Linked DNA regions of Homo sapiens: all the other regions are linked to region 2. The links are contacts of gene promoters, found by promoter capture Hi-C in blood cells and fetal thymus (Javierre and others, 2016). All regions are on one chromosome and are shown on one strand. Each heading gives the region's core, a stretch centred on a gene start or on the middle of the fragment in contact. The rest is flanking DNA. Distances are from core to core; before and after follow the strand shown.

Evidence for each region. The method cuts DNA at HindIII sites, captures the fragments that hold promoters and counts their contacts. A CHiCAGO score of 5 or more calls a contact.
Region 1: a contact is called between a fragment that was not itself captured here and the fragment with the promoter of CLDN20 in region 2, in 3 of 17 cell types (M2 macrophages, endothelial precursors and M1 macrophages). The highest score is 7.5, in M2 macrophages.
Region 3: a fragment that was not itself captured here is called in contact with the fragment with the promoter of CLDN20 in region 2 in 1 of 17 cell types (M2 macrophages); the score reaches 5.0 in M2 macrophages.
Region 4: a fragment that was not itself captured here is called in contact with the fragment with the promoter of CLDN20 in region 2 in 7 of 17 cell types (M2 macrophages, megakaryocytes, M0 macrophages and 4 more); the score reaches 7.0 in M2 macrophages.
Region 5: a fragment that was not itself captured here is called in contact with the fragment with the promoter of CLDN20 in region 2 in 8 of 17 cell types (M1 macrophages, M0 macrophages, M2 macrophages and 5 more); the score reaches 8.6 in M1 macrophages.

The regions. Positions count from the first base shown.
Region 1 is chr6:154,884,823-154,888,943 of GRCh38, reverse strand. No RefSeq gene overlaps it. Among named protein-coding and RNA genes, the nearest start is that of MIR1273C, 34 kb to the right of the region's middle. The HindIII fragment of the contact is 1,364 bases long and covers 1,391-2,754 here.
Region 2 is chr6:155,262,432-155,266,470 of GRCh38, reverse strand. CLDN20 (claudin 20) reads right to left here and starts at 2,458. Exons shown (of 2, transcript NM_001001346.3): 1 at 2,183-2,458. All of the region lies in intron 5 of TFB1M (transcription factor B1, mitochondrial), which reads left to right. The HindIII fragment of the contact is 9,121 bases long and covers 1-4,039 here.
Region 3 is chr6:154,861,338-154,865,347 of GRCh38, reverse strand. No RefSeq gene overlaps it. Among named protein-coding and RNA genes, the nearest start is that of MIR1273C, 10 kb to the right of the region's middle. RefSeq lists silencers at 1,279-1,573, 1,806-2,006. The HindIII fragment of the contact is 3,395 bases long and covers 1,004-4,010 here.
Region 4 is chr6:154,906,869-154,910,506 of GRCh38, reverse strand. No RefSeq gene overlaps it. Among named protein-coding and RNA genes, the nearest start is that of MIR1273C, 55 kb to the right of the region's middle. The HindIII fragment of the contact is 776 bases long and covers 1,382-2,157 here.
Region 5 is chr6:154,930,982-154,934,720 of GRCh38, reverse strand. No RefSeq gene overlaps it. Among named protein-coding and RNA genes, the nearest start is that of TIAM2, 62 kb to the left of the region's middle. The HindIII fragment of the contact is 1,422 bases long and covers 1,041-2,462 here.

The sequences.
Region 1 (4,121 bases), core at 823-3,322, 380 kb after region 2:
ACCTATTTTAGGCTTTAGCTCCTTCTGACATGGAGTTCTGGCTTTGTCATTTATTAACATAATGCCACAGGCACTTGTTTTTACATAAGCTTCATCCTCAAACCAACTTCCAGCCTCCTGATTTGCCTTTACAGTTCTGTACCTCTCTTCCACATTCTTCTTGAATTAGGTAGGAGTCTGCCTCTCCTGTGCTGGTCCTTTCAGATTTGGCCCGTCAGAGAGTAGACTGGGGGCACAAGAACCTCCTTTCTTTTTCATTAGGATTATATGTCACCTTACACATACTAGCAAGATTATACTGTGAGTTTATCATCCCTCGTGTCAGCTTTTGCAATGATTGGAATGTCCACCCATCTGAAACTCATGCTGAAACTTAATCCCCAACGTGGCGCCATTGAGAGGTTGGGCCTTTAAGAGGTGATTTGGTCATGAAGGCTCTGCCCTCATGAATGGGCTAATCCATTCATGGATGACTGGATTAATAGGTAATCATGGGAATGGGACTGGTAGTTTTACAAAAGGAGGAAGAGAGACCTGTGCTAGCACACTCAGCCCCCTTGCCCTGTGATGCCCAGGACCACCTCAGGACTCTGCAGAGTCCCCATCAGCAAGAAGGCCCTCACCAGATGCAGCCCCTTGACCCTGGACTTCTCAGCCTCCATAACTGTAGGAAATAAATTCCTTTTATTTATAAATTACTGTTTTAGGTATTCTATTAAAAGCAAACTAAAACAGCTTTCGGATTCAAAACTCTGTCCACTAAATTCATCTCAGAACCCTTTGAAATCTGTCTTCCAAAAAATGTTCTAGTAAGAGCAGCACTTTAGGTATATGTGATCAATGACATGTATTATGCACAGTCTTATACTTGATAACACCCACCCATTTGCTTTACACTCTGCCTCTGCGATGGATTCCCATCAGCACCCTGGACAGACGGGCATCATTATCCCCATTTTCGAAGAGAGTAGGCCTATGGCTCAAGGCAACATATTGTGTAAGTGGCAAAACCAGGCTGAAAGCCCAGCTCTGGGGACTCCAGAACGAATGATGCCTCCTCTACTCTACACTGTCTGGTACTCTTTAAAACAATTTTCTTTTTGCAGTGTTTTATTCTGTATGGCAAACAGAATTCTCCTGTTTTTTTAAGAATAAAAAATGCTCGGATTTAGAATCATGTGATTTATTTTTTCCATACTTACCTCTATCTTATACTATTTTCTACAGTATGCATTATTTGTATGATTTAAAAAATAGGATCATAATGAAAAAATAAATAGGAATATTCTGAGACCCAATTTTATCTATATAAAGGGACAGATAAAGACTCTTAAAATTTAACAAAAGTTTAAAAAATTACAAAAGGAAAATTTTGCAAAATTGAGAAGCTTCATAAGTGGAATTTTATTATAAAAATGGGAGATACACTTGCTTATTTTTTAAAGAGGCATCTAGTTGGGTGGATTGGGTGGGTGTGTGGACAGGACTGGCTAAACTTAGGTCTCCGTCTCATACCATGTGGCCACAGGTCCAGGGAGCCTGGGCTGACAACTCTCTTGTGTGCACCCATTTTAAACAAACCCCCAAATAGATGGGGTTTAGAGTTGACAGACAGATATGTCCAGGACTGGAGTCTAGCTTCTAAAGGGAACAGGAGCGATGTTCTGTTTATCACTCCTCTGCTATTCAACTCCTTCATGGGAGCAAGTATGACTAATGTATGTGGGCACATAGTGGACCTGGGCCCATGTGCTTTAGTAAATTCATTACCTAATTAATGTGAACACGTGGGGAGTTTTTCTAAATATATTCTAACAACATACACTGATTATATGTGCATCGTATAAATCTCATATGTACAAACTCGAAACATGGTTTTAAAGGAATGTGGAAAATTCTCAGGCATGCTGAGACCTATCCAGTGTTAGTTAGTTAAAGGAGAAAATCAGGACTAAGACCTAAACCCTACTCTAAAAAACTTAATCTAAATTGTTTTTAGACTACTGAGTTAATCTAAGTAGCTTAGTTCTAGTCAAGGCAAGTCTCAGTTTGGAAATCAAGTGTTCATGGTATACACTACAAACAGGAACATTTGTCAATTGAACAGTTATGTAGATTCATATGTATATTTCATATTTTAAAAAGTTACATAGATCAATGATTTGGCAGCTGGCTGAAATAATTCCATATTTAAAAATCTGCTGGGTGCATCTGTTAGCAGTTTTGAGTTTCTAATGCAGACTAACAATTTGGTGATAGCAAGCTGTCTTCTTATTAATGTTCCAAAAAACACTGTATTTCAAGATTTTTAGAAGGGGAGCCAACATTTTCTGGGATTTAGTTAAGTGAAGCATCACCATATCTTTTGCCTTTCATAAGTCTCTCATGTCTAGGATTAATAAGCAGTATGTCTTGAAAAGTGTTATCTGACTTTCTAAAAAAGATGAACTGGGACTCATAAATAGGTGGCTGACCTGCATTTACTCTTTCCCAGCCTAAAAGATAAAGTCATTTAAAAGATGTAAAACTACCATCACATTATATTTACATCATTCCCTTTCTCAAAATTATGGGATTTCCCTTGTCCTTTGCCCTTAGCCAAGTTTGAATCAAAGACTTAGGAAACATTCACCCTCCCAAAGAGGTCTATTTAGTTTCCTTGGCTTGCTTCCCCACCCCTCACAGCCATCTTTTTGTAAAATCACATGCCCTACCATCTTCAAAAGCCTTGAGACTAACCTTCCTGATGAAGCTTTTTAGCTGGATCCCTCTTAGCCACCAGATGGGGCCCAGGGAGTCGCAGACAGTATACCACGCACATGCGGTTTCCATGCCTTCCTGCCTCCTGGACCACTGCACCCGAGCTTTCAACTGGAGGAGGGCAAGGTCTTTTCCTTAACTTCTCAAGCATCCAATACAATGCTTGGCCACTCAATTATTTGCTGGGTTAACAAATAAATGAACAAAGCCTACACCCCAACTGATGACCAACATGTGCTCATTTTTTAGTTTCAACATTTCCTTTTTCTACACTATATCAAATAATAATGTAGAACATCTGAAATTCTACACGAATGCATTTTTAATTTGAAAATGAAAAAAAGGAGTAGAAAAAGTCTCTTATAGTCTGACACATTTTCTACTTCATCTTACAGTTTTTAGTTTATAAATTGTCATGTCTGTGAGAGTACAAGCTTTATGAATGTAGAACTAATGTCGTATCCAAACTTTATCGACTATAAAACCAGTGTAGTGTCATGCACAGGCACCCGAAAATTATTGAAGGAATGCCTAGAAGGCTGGGCAGGATGTTCTTTACGTTCCTTTGGTGAGAAAGAAAGAAGAGGCAGGTAATTAAAGAGAATATGTTTATATGCAAAAGGCTATCCTTGGGTGAGAAGGAAGATGCAGACAGTTAAAGAGATTATGTGTATGTACAAAAGGCTATTACTAGAATTACTATCAGAACAAGCAGTGAAAAAGAGGAAATGAGGAGCACAAAGTGGGCATTATCTTGGCAAGAAAACATGGGAAGTGAAGTATCTTTCTTACATGCTGATCTAGGTAGGTCCCCACACAGGCCACCGTATGACAGCATAGTGGCTTCAGGGAGGACTGGGTGAAGAAACAGTAGTAGGTCAGTGATCATTCAGTCTCTGGGACAGTCAATGGACAGACGTTTACAGCTCTGAGTGCTAAACTGCTACTGTGTGAAGCCAAATATAGGCAGTTAAAAAAACTAATCATTTTTGCCAGTTTTGCTGATGTTAAAATTGTTGTCTGATACCAACCATGCCAGTAAAAAAAGAGCATTAGGTGAATTTTACTTTTTTCTATATGTTTTTGTCACTTCAGTAGAACTAGAATCTCTACTGAAATTATTTATTTTTTGAAATGGAGTCTCTCTCTGTGACCAATGCTGGAGTGCAGTGGCACGATCTCGGCTCACTGCAACCTCCCCCTCCCAGGTTCAAGTCATCCTCCTGCCTCAGCCTCCCAAGTAGATGGGATTACAAGTGTGAGCCACCATGCCTGGCTCATTTTCCTGTTTTCAGTAGAGACAGGGTTTCACCATATTGGCCAGGCTGGTCTCAAGCCCCTGGCCTCAAGTGATCCACCCT
Region 2 (4,039 bases), core at 1,209-3,708:
TGGCTTTGTGGGTGTCACAGGGCTCTAGCTGCACTTCTAGTGAATTTAATCTCCAGGATTTGAGTTGACTGTGTGATACTTTCCCAAGCAACTAGGATTGTTCCCCAAACCTGTGATTCTCATTTCTGCCCACACGAGGGCTTTGGAAAAGCCCCAAGAGGCTCAGGCCCAACCCAGTGGCTTTTATTTAATTTTCTGGGATGGAGCCCCATCCTTGTATTTTTCAAATGCTGTCCATTTAATTCTAATGAAAAGTTGGGGTTCTGAATTTTAAAAAAAATGTTGTGATGGTTAACACTGAGTGTCAACTTGATTGGATTGAAGGATACAAAGTATTGATCCTGGGTGTATCTGTGAGGGTGTTGTCAAAGGAGATTAACATTTGAGTCAGTGAGGTGGGGAAGGTAGACCCGCCCTCAATCTGGGTGGGCACCATCTAATCAGCTGCCGGCTCAGCTAGAATATAAGTGGGCAGAAAAATGTGAAAAGAGAGACTGGCTTAGCCTCCCAGCCCACATCTTTTCTCACGTGCTGGATGCTTCCTATCCTCAAACATTGGACTCCCAAGTTCTTCAGTTTTGGAACTTGGACTGGCTCTCCTTGCTTCTCAGCCTGCAGATGGCCTATTGTGGGACCTTGTGATCATGTGAGTTAATACTTAATAAACTCTTCTTTATATATATATTTAATATTTACATATTATATATTAAATATATATTATATATTATATATAATATATATTTATATTATATATAAATATATTTAATATTTATATTTAATAAACTCATATATATATATTCCATTAGTTCTGTCCCTCTAGAGAACCCTAATACAAATGTTTTTTCTTCTTTGCTTTCCATTCAATCTTGAAAATAATGACAGTTCAGAGTAAGATAAAATAGTTACCTGTTCCAGCCCTACAAATTTAAAGTGATTTGACCTAATCCTAAAATAATGTTCTTCTTCTGTCCCAGCCTTAGGAAATTAACAGTATCAGCTATGAATATACGAATGTACTGACCAAGCATCTTCAGTGTGATGTCTAGTCCGTTTGATAATTATGGTTTATTATGAATTACTATATTTGTATGCATGTTCTATTTCTCAGTCTTTTAATAATATTACTAGCAGCATTTATCAAGTGCCTTCTGAGTTTGTTTAGATTGAGAGCCTCTCTGAGGTCCTGTCTTCTCTCTGAGGGACGGGAGTTGCTCAGGACCTGCAGCGCTGGGGTCCAGACCCTGGCAGTTGCCAATGTGCTGCCACACCCATGGCCCGGCTGGGCAGCCTCGAAGCTGCCTCAGGCAGCTCCTGCCACATCCACAAACCCAAGCGGGAGCACAGCCCGGGACAGGAAACACAGGGCACGTCCAGATGCTGCTGCTTCACAGACACCAAGGGCGTGGTTTGTGGAAAAGGCCTAGTTTTAGGAAGGTCTTTTCCCTCTGATCATCCAGGAACTCCAGATTAAATGTAACAGAAAACCTTTATACAACAATTGTCAGTTCTTGTTCCATTTGTGCTTTCTTGAGGATTACACGTGCATCTCCCTGAAATTGTTTAATCTCTTGGGACCAAGAGACACTGACTCATCTTGTTGTTGTTATTACTAATAGGTGTAATTTACATACATACATATGTACATTTACATAATTTACACAGTAAAAAAACTCTTCATCCCCCTCACCACATTTCTTAGTCTTATTTCTCTTGTGATCTGAGTTTGCTGTCATTCTCTTGGCCTCAGTTCTTCCTACCACATCTGCTCTGAGAGGAAACACTATGTGACTGTTTAAAATCTGTTCTTTTTTTATGATCCCAAGAAGAAAGAGAAAAAAACAAAGATCTGTAGGAAGAAAAAAGGGTGAGGACAGAACTTCTGCAGAAATAAATATTGTTACAATAACACAAATTGTAAACTTTAGGATAGGTACTGACCGTGTAGTTGATCTTTATTGAACCAGTTGGTTTGAAATACTTAGAATGCTGTCAGCTTTAAGGTTTTACAGTGGAAATTCTTTCCTTAAATTGGCTTTTGGACATGGATCACAGGTAGAGTGAACCAATTCCAGAAAATGTGATCTACATTCACATTTGTCAGTATTTTCTTTTTCTATGACATGCATAATTATCATATCACAGGCATCAGTGACTTGCTGCCTCTACCTGGGATTCTCCTTACCTGGGAAAGTTGTAACCTCGAGGCCCGTGATGTCCTAAAGTGGACTGTCATTAGCTTGGTGGAGGTACTTGAAGAGCAAGCAGACACTGGAGGGTGGGGAAACCAAGCATCCGGAGGCACTCATCTTGCTCCGTTGTTTTACCCGACAGTGAAGTGGCTCTCCCAAGCCCCTGTCCTCCTGCGTTCCATTTTGTGGTGCCTATAGCCTGCAAGATGCCATATGCTTCCTGTTCCCAACCACCCAGGTCTGCCCGTGATCATCCCACTTCGAACTTTGAATCCTTCTTATATGTTGTTCTTTAAAGTCTTACTGATTATTCCCTGTGGTCTTTTTTTTTTTTTTCACTAGCCCTTCTGTTGTCTTAAGTTATGGCTGTGTCTTGGCTATTTACATAGTAACTTCCTCATCATTTTTTCATCTCCACTATCTTGTCCTCTAATGGTCTTGAACACCGTGAGAGTGTTGAATGAAGACCCTTTTGTAGACAGTGGCCAGCATTGTTTCTGTGTCTGTGCATGTGGTCGTGACTTAGCTTTTGGGCATATGATAATCATCAGGAACTGAGTTGTACGTCTCTTCAGTGTCCTCTGTATATCATGTTGATTACAGTTCTCAGTTGTAATATCTAATATCTAAGATTTAAGATTTAATATCTCCTTAGCCCGGGTCCCTTGTGAGTTCCAAGTGCTGCTCTGAGCTGATAACCAGTCACGTCCTAGACACCCTGGCCTGGAAACTAGGACATCTGCCTCGGGCCTGTTATGGCCAAGGCTGCTAACACTGAGAAACAGTCTTAGCTTGTTACAGCGTTGACGTATAGGGTTAGAAAGGCAAATATTTAAATTCATTTTAAATCCTTTCATTTGAAATTTTAGTAGGTCATTTTGGTATACTGATGGACTGAGTTTGGAAAAGGCTGGCGGCATTAAACTAGAATATTTTAAGTACTTCTGATGCCTTTGTACTGATTTCTTTTTTGTAATCAAACCCATTAATAGACTTAAAACTCAAGGAAGAAAAAATAATACTTGTAATTTTAAATAAGCATTCAATTATAAGTAAAAAACATTTTTGTATTCGTTACCATAGTTACCAAGCAGCTTTCCTATAGTTCTAGAAAAAAATGGGCTCCATCATTCAGAGTAATTCTGAAAGGTGCCTTTGGGGGAAAGGGAGAGGAAGGGGTGGTACAGGAGAGGTCCTGGCCGTCCCAGAAGCAGGAGACATAACTGGAAGAGCTTTGTTGACGCTGAGTTTTACAGAATCTCCCACTAAATAGTAACTGCATTTGTGAGGGGAATTCTCTTTTAGCCGTGACATAATATAAGCCAACTTAACAGAGTATTGGAATTGTATTCAAACTTTAGAAGTCGACGCTATAGTTTACATGGGGTACTACTATATTTGTTCAGGGTTTTAAAACTTTATTTAAATCAAGCAAAAGTTAGACACTTCCTGTATTTGCAAATACCAACTATATCTCAAAGGAATGAAATCAGGCAAATAAAGATGAGGCCAAAATTTAAAATCTAAGGAAGCTGAAAGTGGCAGTTTCTGTACTGGAAGAGAGTGCATCTATCTCTGTATTTGTGCTTTTGGTCTTAATAGTTTGTAAGCCTTATGTAGAGTTTTGATAATATTTCATGGTTTTAGGCCTAGGCAGGGATTAGATTTTATCTCAGATTTTGCTAAGAGTATTTCTTCTGGAGACTAGCAGGCTGCTAGTAAGAATTGATAGAATTGGCTCTTTGTCACTGGGAGAACTGGAGTTGAAGGGTTACAGGAGATGAGTCCTGGAGAACGGGAGGCAGGGACAAGGGTGCCAGGAAGCTCAGGGGATGAAAGGGAAATGGAGA
Region 3 (4,010 bases), core at 1,452-3,951, 400 kb after region 2:
TTAACTAGGGCCAGGCACGGTGGCTCACACCTGTAATCCCAGTACTTTGGGAGGCCGAGGTGGGCGGATGACCTGAGGTCAGGAGTTCGAGACCAGCATGGCCAACATGGTGAAACCCCATCTCTACTAAAAAAAAAAAAAAAAATACAAAAATTAGCCGGGCATGGTGTCAGGCGCCTGTAATCCCAGCTACTCGGGAGGTTGACGCAGAAGAATCGCATGAACCTGGGAGGCAGAGGTTGCAGTGAGCCGAGATCACGCCATTGCACTCTAGCCTGGGAGACAAGAGCAAGGCTTCATCTCAAAAAAAAAAAAAAAGAAAGAAAATTGGTTAAGTAAATTATGGTTAAGCAAATAGCAGAATATTATGCAGGCATTACAAATGATGTGCAGCTTATATGCTTGGGAAGCATCTAGAAGAACACATGAGGAACTAATAATGGTTGCCTCTGCAGAAGAAGAATTAGGCTGGCTGGCTAATTATGAATTTTTTACTTCATCTCCTTTGTTATTGGTTGAATAAGTTATGATAAACATGTATTATTTTAAAATAAAACAGACAAAAATGTGAAATAAGCACCATTTTGAATGACAAGAAGAAAAAGGAAAAACGACTGTGCTGTAGATGGTAGAAAGAAAACAGGTATTAGGAGATCAGCGTGAGAGATGTTCACGACAAAAGAATAGGACAGAGTACCGAACTTTTAAAATTTTTGGTCAGATGAACAATCTGATAAACTCATTTGTCAAAACAAACTAATATTAATTTGAAAAAATAAAAAATCACTGAATTGAGTAAAGTGACAGCATTTCTGAAAGGAAATAAACCTTTACATGAAAAGTCACTCAGTGTGAGAATGTTAAAATTTTTATATTTTCTATTTCCACAGCTATCCTCACATATTTTCTTGTCTGCTTTAAACAAGGTATCACCCCAAACAGTGTTAACCACTCCAGGAATTAGCAGTGAACAAAACTACATTGTCGTTCACCCATGGAAGCTTTTGTTGCACAAATTTCAAAAGCCTTGTCAAAGGCAGAAACCAGTTAGCACAAAGAATTGATGTCACAGGATAAACAATTTGTACAAATCCTCAAGATACTCGAATGACAAGTTCTGTGCTTAGGACAACATTCTCCATGAGGACAAAGAAGGCAGTAAAACAGTTTCAAGAACCACCACAATTCAAACATGTAACACTGCTTTTAAATGCTGATCAAATGTTAAGGCTCCAAAATGCTATAATTAAGAGATTCGTTTTTTTCCTTTATTTTTTGAAAGCATTGTTTAAAAAACAAGAAAAGTAACTATGTTATCCAATATGAAATTCCACAACATGAATTTTCAGCTTAGCAACTAGTCTAGGTAATGATTAACTGGAATAAGGCAATGACAGGAAGAAAACCCAAACCAGGTGGAGCTGTGGCTACAAACTACAGAATGCTCACCTGCCTAAGGGGGACACAGAAGGGAGAGTCTGGGACCGAAGAGCAAGAATTCCATGTGGACTTGGAGTTCCTGACCATTCAGCAGTCATTCATTTCAGTTAAAGGTAGACTTCGCTCTCGTGAAAATGTGCGTGTGAGTGAGAGTATATGAGGAACCTCAAGAAAGAGAGAAAGATAACTTTTTAAAAATTCCCTGGAAGATATTGGGGTAGGCTAATTTAAAAATCAATAAAAAGAAGCAGAAAAGAAAGCCAGGACAACGAAAACTCCACTTATTTTACAGTTTCCTCTGAGACTGGCAACACATTTTACAGATTACATTCCCAAAGTGTGTGTGTGTGTGTGTGTGTGTGTGTGTGTGTGTGTGTGTGCACGCATTCATGCATGTATGCAACTATGCATTTAAAGACTCAATTTTATCAGCAATGAGAATGATTTTACAATTTTGCTGTCTTTGTGGCTGTAACCTTTACTGAGTCAATTCTCTTATCCACTTTCAAAGACTTATCATCTTGGGAAACTGAAATAGTAATACTCCTAATCTTCTGGCAAAGCTAACCATCAAATGATCAGTAAAGAATTTGCCCCTCATGAGTATATAACAAAGTCAAATTCCTGCACTAGTTAAATTATCTGGCAATGGCAAAATTCTGTTGGTGATTACAAAATGAGAGAAATGTAATAACATTCCAAATAAGTCCTTTAAAATTAAAACTACAAGGAACTTTAAATTAACAATTAAGAGTATGCACCAAGGGAGATGCATCTAATACCACATAACTAATAAAATGAATTGACAGTCCTGAAGGTATGAGCGTTTATCCTTTAAAGGTGTCAAAATGTTTTATATTCAGCTAAAAGATTTCATGCTACTATGACCAAATTTAATGGAGACATCTTCATTTCTGAAGCAGAGCATCTATAGCAGAGTCTCCAGATGCTCTATTTCAATAAAAGCACAATGCAATCTAACAGCAGATTTGAAAATCAAATGATTTCCAGAAAACCGGTAACCGGAAAAACTGAAAACTGATTTTTGCTATAGCTAATGAATTTTTTAATTTTTTCACTTGGTAGTAAAGCTGTGTCAGGAACATTTTGTCTTTTGGCAGCTAGTAGGAATTTCAAAATCCCGCTTTCTCCTTGGAAACGTATTGATTAGGTCTTTTTTTTTTAAGAGGGAGTTTCGCTCTTGTTGCCCAGGCTGGAGTGCAATGGCGTGATTTCGGATCACCGCAACCTCGCCTCCTGGTTCAAGTGATTCTCCTGCCTCAGATGGGATTACAGGCATGCACCATCATGCCCGCCTAATTTTGTATTTTTAGTAGAGACGGGGTTTCTCCATGTTGGTCAGGCTGGTCTCGAACTCCTGACCTCAGGTGATCCACCTGCCTCGGCCTCCCAAAGTGCTGGGATTATAGGCATGAGCCACTGCACCCGGTCTGATTAAGTCTTTTATGGCTGAGGCTGTACTTAACACCCACCTTGATGGGATCCAGTTAGTCACTTGTTTCTCATTTAAATATACAACTAAGTTGCAAACTACAAAGCTACACAGTCTACATCCAGCTAACTACACTATATATAGTTTGATGTATAATCAATGTACATTATGACGGAATCTTGAAATACTACTAGCTACAAAATGCTTTCTCCTTTCTTTGAAAAAGACTTGCATTTTTAAAGCCAGTGGAAAACAATCCAAATTAAAAATCAACACAACAGATATACAGAAAAAAAAGAGCTAGGCACAAATTTGCCTTGTTAAAATGCTTTTCTTAGAAAGATGATAGCTTGCACATTTCCAACTAATCCACCTGATGCACAGAGCATTACTGCTGCCTCTGTCTCTTCTTGAACAAACACAGGCCTTGGGCTTTACAGACTAATTCAAATGTGTATAAATCAATTGCTTCCTTCCTGCTGTTGCTCTTTTCAGATAGCAGACAAGAGGCTCTAGTTTAAGGATGGCAGTCAGGATGGACACATTAGAAAGAAACATTTTAGTTTCAATGTTACCATAAAACCAGAACGAAAAGCAGCATGCTGTATTATATTTTACAATTTAGGTTCCATTTCTAACTCCACCTAAAATGAATATGAACAAACTCATTTTTAAGTGTTTGTCAGTCAAATACAATAATAGTCTAAGTTTATTCACATATGTACCAACCAAAGCCCAATAAAGCTAAAAGGAAGCCAAGTGTAATAAAAAGGCAGCTATAAGGTCTTGTGTTTGAATTTTTACCCAGCAAGAAATAAATGATACTTAGTAATCCATCTTTCCCCCCCACTGCCATCCCTGCACACATCTAAAATAGGCTAACTTCACCTATTCTAACTTCTGAAATTGTTTTGGAATTCCTGTTTTAATTTTTTTTTTTTAAGACTGGATGGTTAAGTTACTAGAATTTTTAGATACAGGTTCGATGGTCATTATAATATACTCTAAGGAGGGGTCTAATTATTATAGGGGATTTCAAATTTGCAGTCCAACAGGCAGAGTAGAAATCATTCAATTCTAGAAATTGGTATCATTAGCATTCTTATAGAAGAAAAAT
Region 4 (3,638 bases), core at 520-3,019, 360 kb after region 2:
TCTGTAACCTTTAAAGAGTCCTCCAAGAGAAAGCCCCGCTATAAAAATGATTGGATTTGATGCCACCGCCATAGTCTGGAATGTTCTTCAATTTTCATACATAGATGCAGAAATAGTGGATTTGGAGAAATCACTAATAATGAATGAAAGGAGGCTTTCTTCTGAAGCATCAAACTTCACGACTTCCTTAACTGCTTATACTTTTAAATCATTTAAAACACAAATTACTCCGGATAAAAGTAATCATCTACGTGTAATTCCTTTGTGGAGGCCATTCTGAAATAGTTTTTCCCCCTCTATGAGGAATTTATGAACCGCAAAGAAATTGCATAAGACCACCCATCTCATTTGAATGAGATCTCTGTATTGGAATTCAAGTGAGAGGCCAGCATTTACTCACAAAGCCAAACAACCCCCATGGGGGATTCTTTCTAATTGTGCAAATACCAAATAGCTCCAGTTTGTCAAAGTCACTTAATACTGTTTTAAAAACCAGCTCGAAATGCTTAACGTCCCTGGAGAACGGTGACTTTCGAAAGCTTTCCTTTGCCATGGACTGAAGCAGGGAGGGAGTGTGGACTGTTCAATATTCATGCCGATTCACACAGAGAGCCTGTCCAGATGCTCAGGTCGAGGGGAGCAGGAGCTTCTGAAGAGGGAATTCATCCAGGGAACAAAAGCATCAACCTCTGCCCCCATTATGCTGCCTTGGGATTTTAAAAAGATTACTCTTCCAACAGATGGGCCTTCGTGTGCACCTGGTCATTGGAAAAGCACCTCCAGCTAAGTGCTGACTGGATATGCACCCAGTGCTGAAGGAATGATCCTCTTTTACCTTCATTTGCTATTCTGTTTCTCCTCTCACCCTATCCAGCGAAAAGAACCTCAGAAACTTCTATTTGTTTTTTTTTCCAATTTAATTTCCCAAATCATTTGCTCATATGTGCACAAGAATGGTGAGGTTAGTCACAAATCCATACTGTTCCTTTGTGGGGGGTAGAGGCTTGAGGGGGTGGGAAGTGGGAGCTAGATGGATGTTTGCCAATTGTAGGTTTAGTTACAAAAGAATAGAAGGAAAGGGATCTTTTCTCATTGCCATATCAAATTTGGTAGAGGTGCCAAGCAAGATCTAAGTTTTCTACATAGGCTCACATGTCTGTGTTTCTCTGGAGCTGTTTTATTTCTAACTGCAATATGATGGAATACATAAAACAATACTCCAACACTACCGGGCAGAGAGTCAAACAAAAAAGATCCTATTGAAAAGCCTATAATTGCCACTATATTACCTATAGCCTTCTCTAGTTTCCTACTTACTACTTAATAGAAAATATAATCAATTTAATAGAAAATCTGCTGTAAGGAGAAACTCAAGAAAGCTTAGGTATAATCCTCAGGAATTAATTTTAATCTGTGTTATAGAATGCATATTCAAAAAGGCCTTGGCATTCAAAAATCTCTTGGCCTTTCAATAAATAAAAAGAGTGGTTGTTCAAATATAGAAAACAACAGTGAAAGGCTTGAACTATGAATCTATCTCTATATCTCTATACATACAAACTGCTCAGTTACTAGGCACAGACAGACCACAAAAGGTGCACTAAGCTACACAGCAAAATAAATGACTAACACCCAAAATTAGTTTCAATTTTTATTATGAATGTCCAAAGTGACAGCATACTGTGAAAATGCTAAGTTCTCATTGATTAAATTTCAAGAGACCACAGACTACAGCATTCCAAGCACTTTAATTTTTGACAGAGCCAAAAACAAATAAAAGAATGATAAAAATATTCTTTTGGGTGTAAAGAGTATTCATATTTGAGTTTTTGTATTTTTTTCTTCCCTGCAGGTATTGTGAACACTGATAATTTCCAAAACATAAATTCTGGTCTGGATACTTGCAGCAAATTTTTATAATCTCTACCTGGATAAGAAGCTAATAAGAAATGTACTTATAAAGTATGTTTACGATACAGTGTGATATGTTTGTTTATCTTCATTTCCTTATCTATCCCATGAGGCTTCTTGTCTACCACCCGGGTACCTGCTGTTGGTAATAACAGGACAGGGAGGCTGAAGTGAAACACTCGAAGACTGTACAGAATCCTGGATTTTCTGAAAGCTGCATTTACTCTTTTTTTTTTAATGAAAGCTTAAGACTTTCAGTGTTTGAGAACGTTCAAGGAGATACCTAATGATAATGGATTAAAGCCACCAATCAAGAACTACACAGTCTACACAGATTGTGTTCAAGAAAAAAAGCCTTGGTTTACTAAAGCTATGTTTCTAGTAATCTGTAGGTCCAACACAATATGACTTTCTTTTTCCCCCCGAAAGGGTTTCCTTGCCATCTGTCCTTTCCATCACTGGTACTGGATGAGCTACAGATGGAGTCTGTTGCCACTGATATTCCAATCAAATCTGGTCCTGGGAAGTGGGTATCTCTTACAGATGCAATACTGTTCATCTGAGTGGATCCCCAAAAAGAACAATTATGAACTAGAAACTCATAGAGTTTGTGTTTAAAATTTATAAAATTAAACCTGCTCCAACAGGTAATACAGGAAGGCATGCTTGCAACCTCTGGATTCAATCAGAAACAATGCCTGAGAGTACAGAGCCTTCTCAATAGGTAACGGCGGGTTCCTTTTAACGCTTCCTTAAACAAGATCCGATGTGATGCACATTAGAACTTTGAAGCACGTCTGTCTCATTTATTTCTACAAGGCCTGGGACACAGGAAGCTGCCAGGACTTCATTCATCATCATCTTGCCTGTTGACAAAAGGAACAATAACTGGTCATCACTGGTCAATGGAATAACTTTTCCTAGTTTTTTCCAAGATCATTCCTAAAGAAAAGATGGTGTCAATACAACAGCAAATGTTTCAATGTTTGATGAATTTCTGTGCTCTAAAATGCCATGCCTTCTTCCAACAGAGCAGGAAGAACCACGTCATGCAGTGTTCATTGCTCTCCAAATGCTGGAATGGTTCAGGAGACAGCCCCGTCCTGGAAGTCAGCTGACCCAGGCTCCACACATGATTCTGCCAATGACTAACACAGTCACCTAAACTTGTTGGGCCTTGGTTCCTTCACATGTAGACTAAAAGGCTTCAGTGGAGCACGTCTAAAAAGAAGGCCATCCAGTGCTACCTTTTAATAGGATCATATGGTCCTGCCTTCTTAGCTCCTTACAGAGCATAACCAGGTATGACCATCTCAAGCTGTGGCTTACAAAATACCTACACCTGGGTGTCCGTGGTCCTCGTTCAGCTTGGAGTTGAGAACCAGGTGAACTTCCAGAGAATTTTCAAAATATTAGCATCTTGAAGTCCATTAAAATCTTAAATGATAGAGTGATGGGTAAAGAATTCTGAAAATACACATCTCCATGTTTTCACATCTTTTGCTGTATTAAGGTCAAAGAAGTGTCTTTTTTTGTCCCTGCTGGCTTTCTTAAATTAACAAATAATCGCATAAAAGCTGAAAAATACATTCATAAGTATAATGACATGGAAGCATTCTGTAAGAGCCTACTATCTAGTTATATAATTCAACTAGTTGGACTAGTTTAAGTAACTCCGCCAAGTAACTTTACCAAGACACATGTCTGGTAGCAGACATGGGACCTAA
Region 5 (3,739 bases), core at 502-3,001, 330 kb after region 2:
TGGCTGAGTTTAGCCCAGACCCCAGAAAACTGTGGTCTCAACAAGGGAGGTGGCAGATGGCAAAGTGGGCACAGGACGGTGGCACTCTATGTATAACGTGACTTCTTTGGGGTGCCTTGCACAGCAAAAGATCCCCTGCAGCTAAATTCAGTATCTCCTGCTTCTTTAGGACTTGATAACTGAGTACTGGGGCTCCGTAAAAGTGGCTTCTAGAAGTATTTAATTTTGCTTGGGATCAATATGTTAAGGCCACTGGTGTAAATACCAAAGAAGAAATGAGGAATTCCTATTTGAAATGAAGTACAAATGACTTTCCTCCTTCTCTTCCTTTTATCCTTCCATCCTTCCTTTCTTTTGAAACAGGGAGAAACTTACTTGTATGACTGGTAGATGTCATTATTGTATATATCTGAACACATTAAGCAATCCATTAAAAAATCCATTTCGACAAAGTGAAATTAACTTTAGAGTTATTCATCTAGTCTTTACTTACCCAGCAAAAGAGGGTAAGATGTGGAAACTGCCCTCAAGAAATTCATAACTAGAGGCTACATTTTAGCTAGTTAGTCCTGCCATCTCCCTCAAAGTAAGATATTCCAACCTACAGATATTTATTAGGGAGAAATGTAAATAAATAACTTAATTATTTAATCAAATAGATCATAAGTCCACAACTCCCTCTAGGCTAAAACTGGTGACTTTCTCAAGAAAAAATGACTTAGCTAAAGCCCAAACGACAGAGAAGTAGACTAGAGTGTGTATGTCTGCAGATTCATTTCTGTACATGAATATTCACCGGGAGAGGCGGATGAGCATGGATACAGATGCTTGTCACTGCTATGGCCACATCCAGGTGAGCCAAGAGGCTGCAGAGCAGGTGGAAACTGCTAATGAAGTTTCCTGGCCAAAGATGATGTTGGGGTGGGTCTGTTGTCTTCCCCCACACCTGGGATCCACTGGCTCACCCACTCTGTGACTGGGGCTCCCAGGAGGCCCAGTCCCCTTCTCCCTGGAGCCTCTGCTGGCCCCTACACTAAGCTTCCCGGCACCCCCATCCCCATCCTGGAGATGGCCTGCTGTGATGACAGGACTGGTTCTAGAAAGCAGGGCTCGTTCCACATCCTTCTTACACTAACTCCATCTTTTCCCTGGGAGATGCTCGCAGGCTCTGCAGTTCAGTCAGGTTTTGTGTCTTGAAGTCTTCAAACTTCTTCAGACAAAAACCTCATGAAGTAAGCGCTGGGGGATGTTATCTTCATTTCACAAAAGAGAAAGCTGAGATGCAGAGCGGCTCACCAAAAAGATATTTAGTCAGTAAAAGCCATTCCAGTAAGTTATGAGAAAAACCAAAGATATGCCATGAAAGTTTGAGGAAAGCACATTCCAGAGTGGCGGTTTCCCCCTCTGTAAAAGGCAAAGGCCCATCCACGCTCCCACAACGGCCATCGCCATTTCAGAATCTGAAACAAAATGTGCTTCCCAGCTCTTTTCTTGCATAAAATAAACAGCACCACGTTTGAAATCATTATGTAAAATTAACTTCAAAGAAACAAGAAACACAGCCTAATAAAGGGGGGGGAGTTTCAGAAGTACCATTTTCAGAAGTACCATTCTCTCATATCCAACCCCCACCACTTTTCCAACTGAATGCAATTTTTGCCCAGAGAGCAACTTTGTCTGCAGAGACTACCCTATACTTGGGAAGGAAGAATGTAAGTAACAAGGTGCAAGCATCAGCATAAGTTGCAACTTCAAAAGGAATATAATCACCGTTTCTGTAAACTCTCCCTTCCAGATAAACAACTGTGTTCCCAGGTTGAAGATGAGTCATGTCCCATCCCCAGAGTCCTCCAAACCACACATTCCTCTTCCTGTCCCTGGCAGTCATTTGCATACATCCTAACCTAAACCAGGGCCGCTTATAAAAGAGCTTGTGTTGAACTTTCTTCTATTTAATTCCAGTGCTTTCTTCCAGCTACCCAATCTGTATGTAATTAAAATCATATTGCAGCAAATGTTGAATGGTATGAAAAGTTTTACCATATGTATACAATTGACTAGTTGTAGAATTTGGCATGTCTGCAATGATCCCATTAACAAGGAGCGAGCCTGGCTTATTTTGGAGTGCACGTTATATGCTTTGGATAGGTTCTGTTTTTAACTTGTTCTAACACTGCCCGTGATGTTTAACCCTTTGTTAGCGGTCAACAAGAAGTGTTCCTGCATTTCAACAATGAGGACCACTGTACCCTGATCAAAACCTCAGGTCAAAAACAATTTGTCTAGTGGAGGAAGTTTCCTTTGAAAAATTTCCATTTTCTAAACTAAAATTAGCCTGCTCAGTCTTGACAAAGGCTGAGCAGATACCATCAGAGCCTCTGGGATCAAGCTGAACCGAATGGAGAAAATACAGATGTAATCATCGCTTCCAAATACTGAGACCCAGGGTGCTCCTTGAAGCTTGAAAGAAATGATTTTAGGACAAAAAGAGGAAGTACTGTACTACTGCAGATAATAAGCATTTGAAACTTATGTCCCAAGAGGTAGCAGATAAACTATAAATAAATTCAAGAAGGAGTTAGCAAAGGTCATGCTGAAGATCTACCTTTGAGGAACATTCCTGACATTCTGTGACTGACACAAGGGAAGGAAAACATCTTTCCGCCTCATCACCCTCCCCACCCCACCCACCTTTCCCACACAACAATTGAAAAAACTGGGGCCTTTGTCAGAGGAAGAATACAAGGTCAGATAAGCCTTTGGTCTGACTCTCTGGGTCAAGACTTGATAAAATTTGTAGATAATAGAGCTGACCAGTTGCAATTTTGCTTTAAAGACATTCTTCAGTAAAGACTGCAGAATGAGTTGAAGTCTTTCTCAACATGTGCCATGAAGAAACATATGTTCTTAATCTGTGGGTTTAAAATTGTTTTAGAATTACATCGATGAGACATATCCTCAAAAGAAAAATCAGGCCACCAACCCCAAACACAAGAGTATAAGAGCAGTGTAGGATAATACTTCTTTCTAGCTTAACGTCTTACAACAAATCTGTTGTAAAAGTTCTTTAAAAAGGAACGTTCATCTGGAGCTTAAAAATATGCATACAGGAGATTTGACAGAGGGTATTAGTTTCTCGCTACAGGCAGGAGCCCCACTAAGCTGATCTGAGGATACAGTAAAGGCAAAGGTACGCAGCACCTCCAGGAAAGGGAGGTGGAGAAAGAAATGCCTTCATTACATTCATCAGATCAAGTTCTCAAATCAGAATTCAAATCCTCAGTTCTCAGTGCTGAATGTTAAGCCACGGAACGTTAAGATTAGAAAACCGCCAAATGAACCTAAACAATTCATCCCTTAAAAAGGAGATGGTATTGTGACCAAACTTTCTTCTTTAAAGTTGGGTACCTGGGTCAGGTATGGTGGCTCATGCCTGAAATCCCAGCACTTTGGGAGGTCGAGGCGGGTGGATCACTTGAGGTCAGGAGTTTGAGACCAGCCTGGCCAACACGATGAAACCCCAACCCTACTAAAAATATCAAAATTAAAAGAGAAAAAAAAAATTAGCCTGGCGTGGCGGCACATGTCTGTAATCCTAGCTACTTGGGAGGCTGAGGCAGGAGAATGGCTTGTATCCAGGAGGTGGAGGTTGCAGTGAGCCGAGATCATCCCACTGTACTTCAGCCTGGGCGACAGAGAGAGACCCTGTCTCAAAAAAAAAAGGAATTGCTCTGAGACC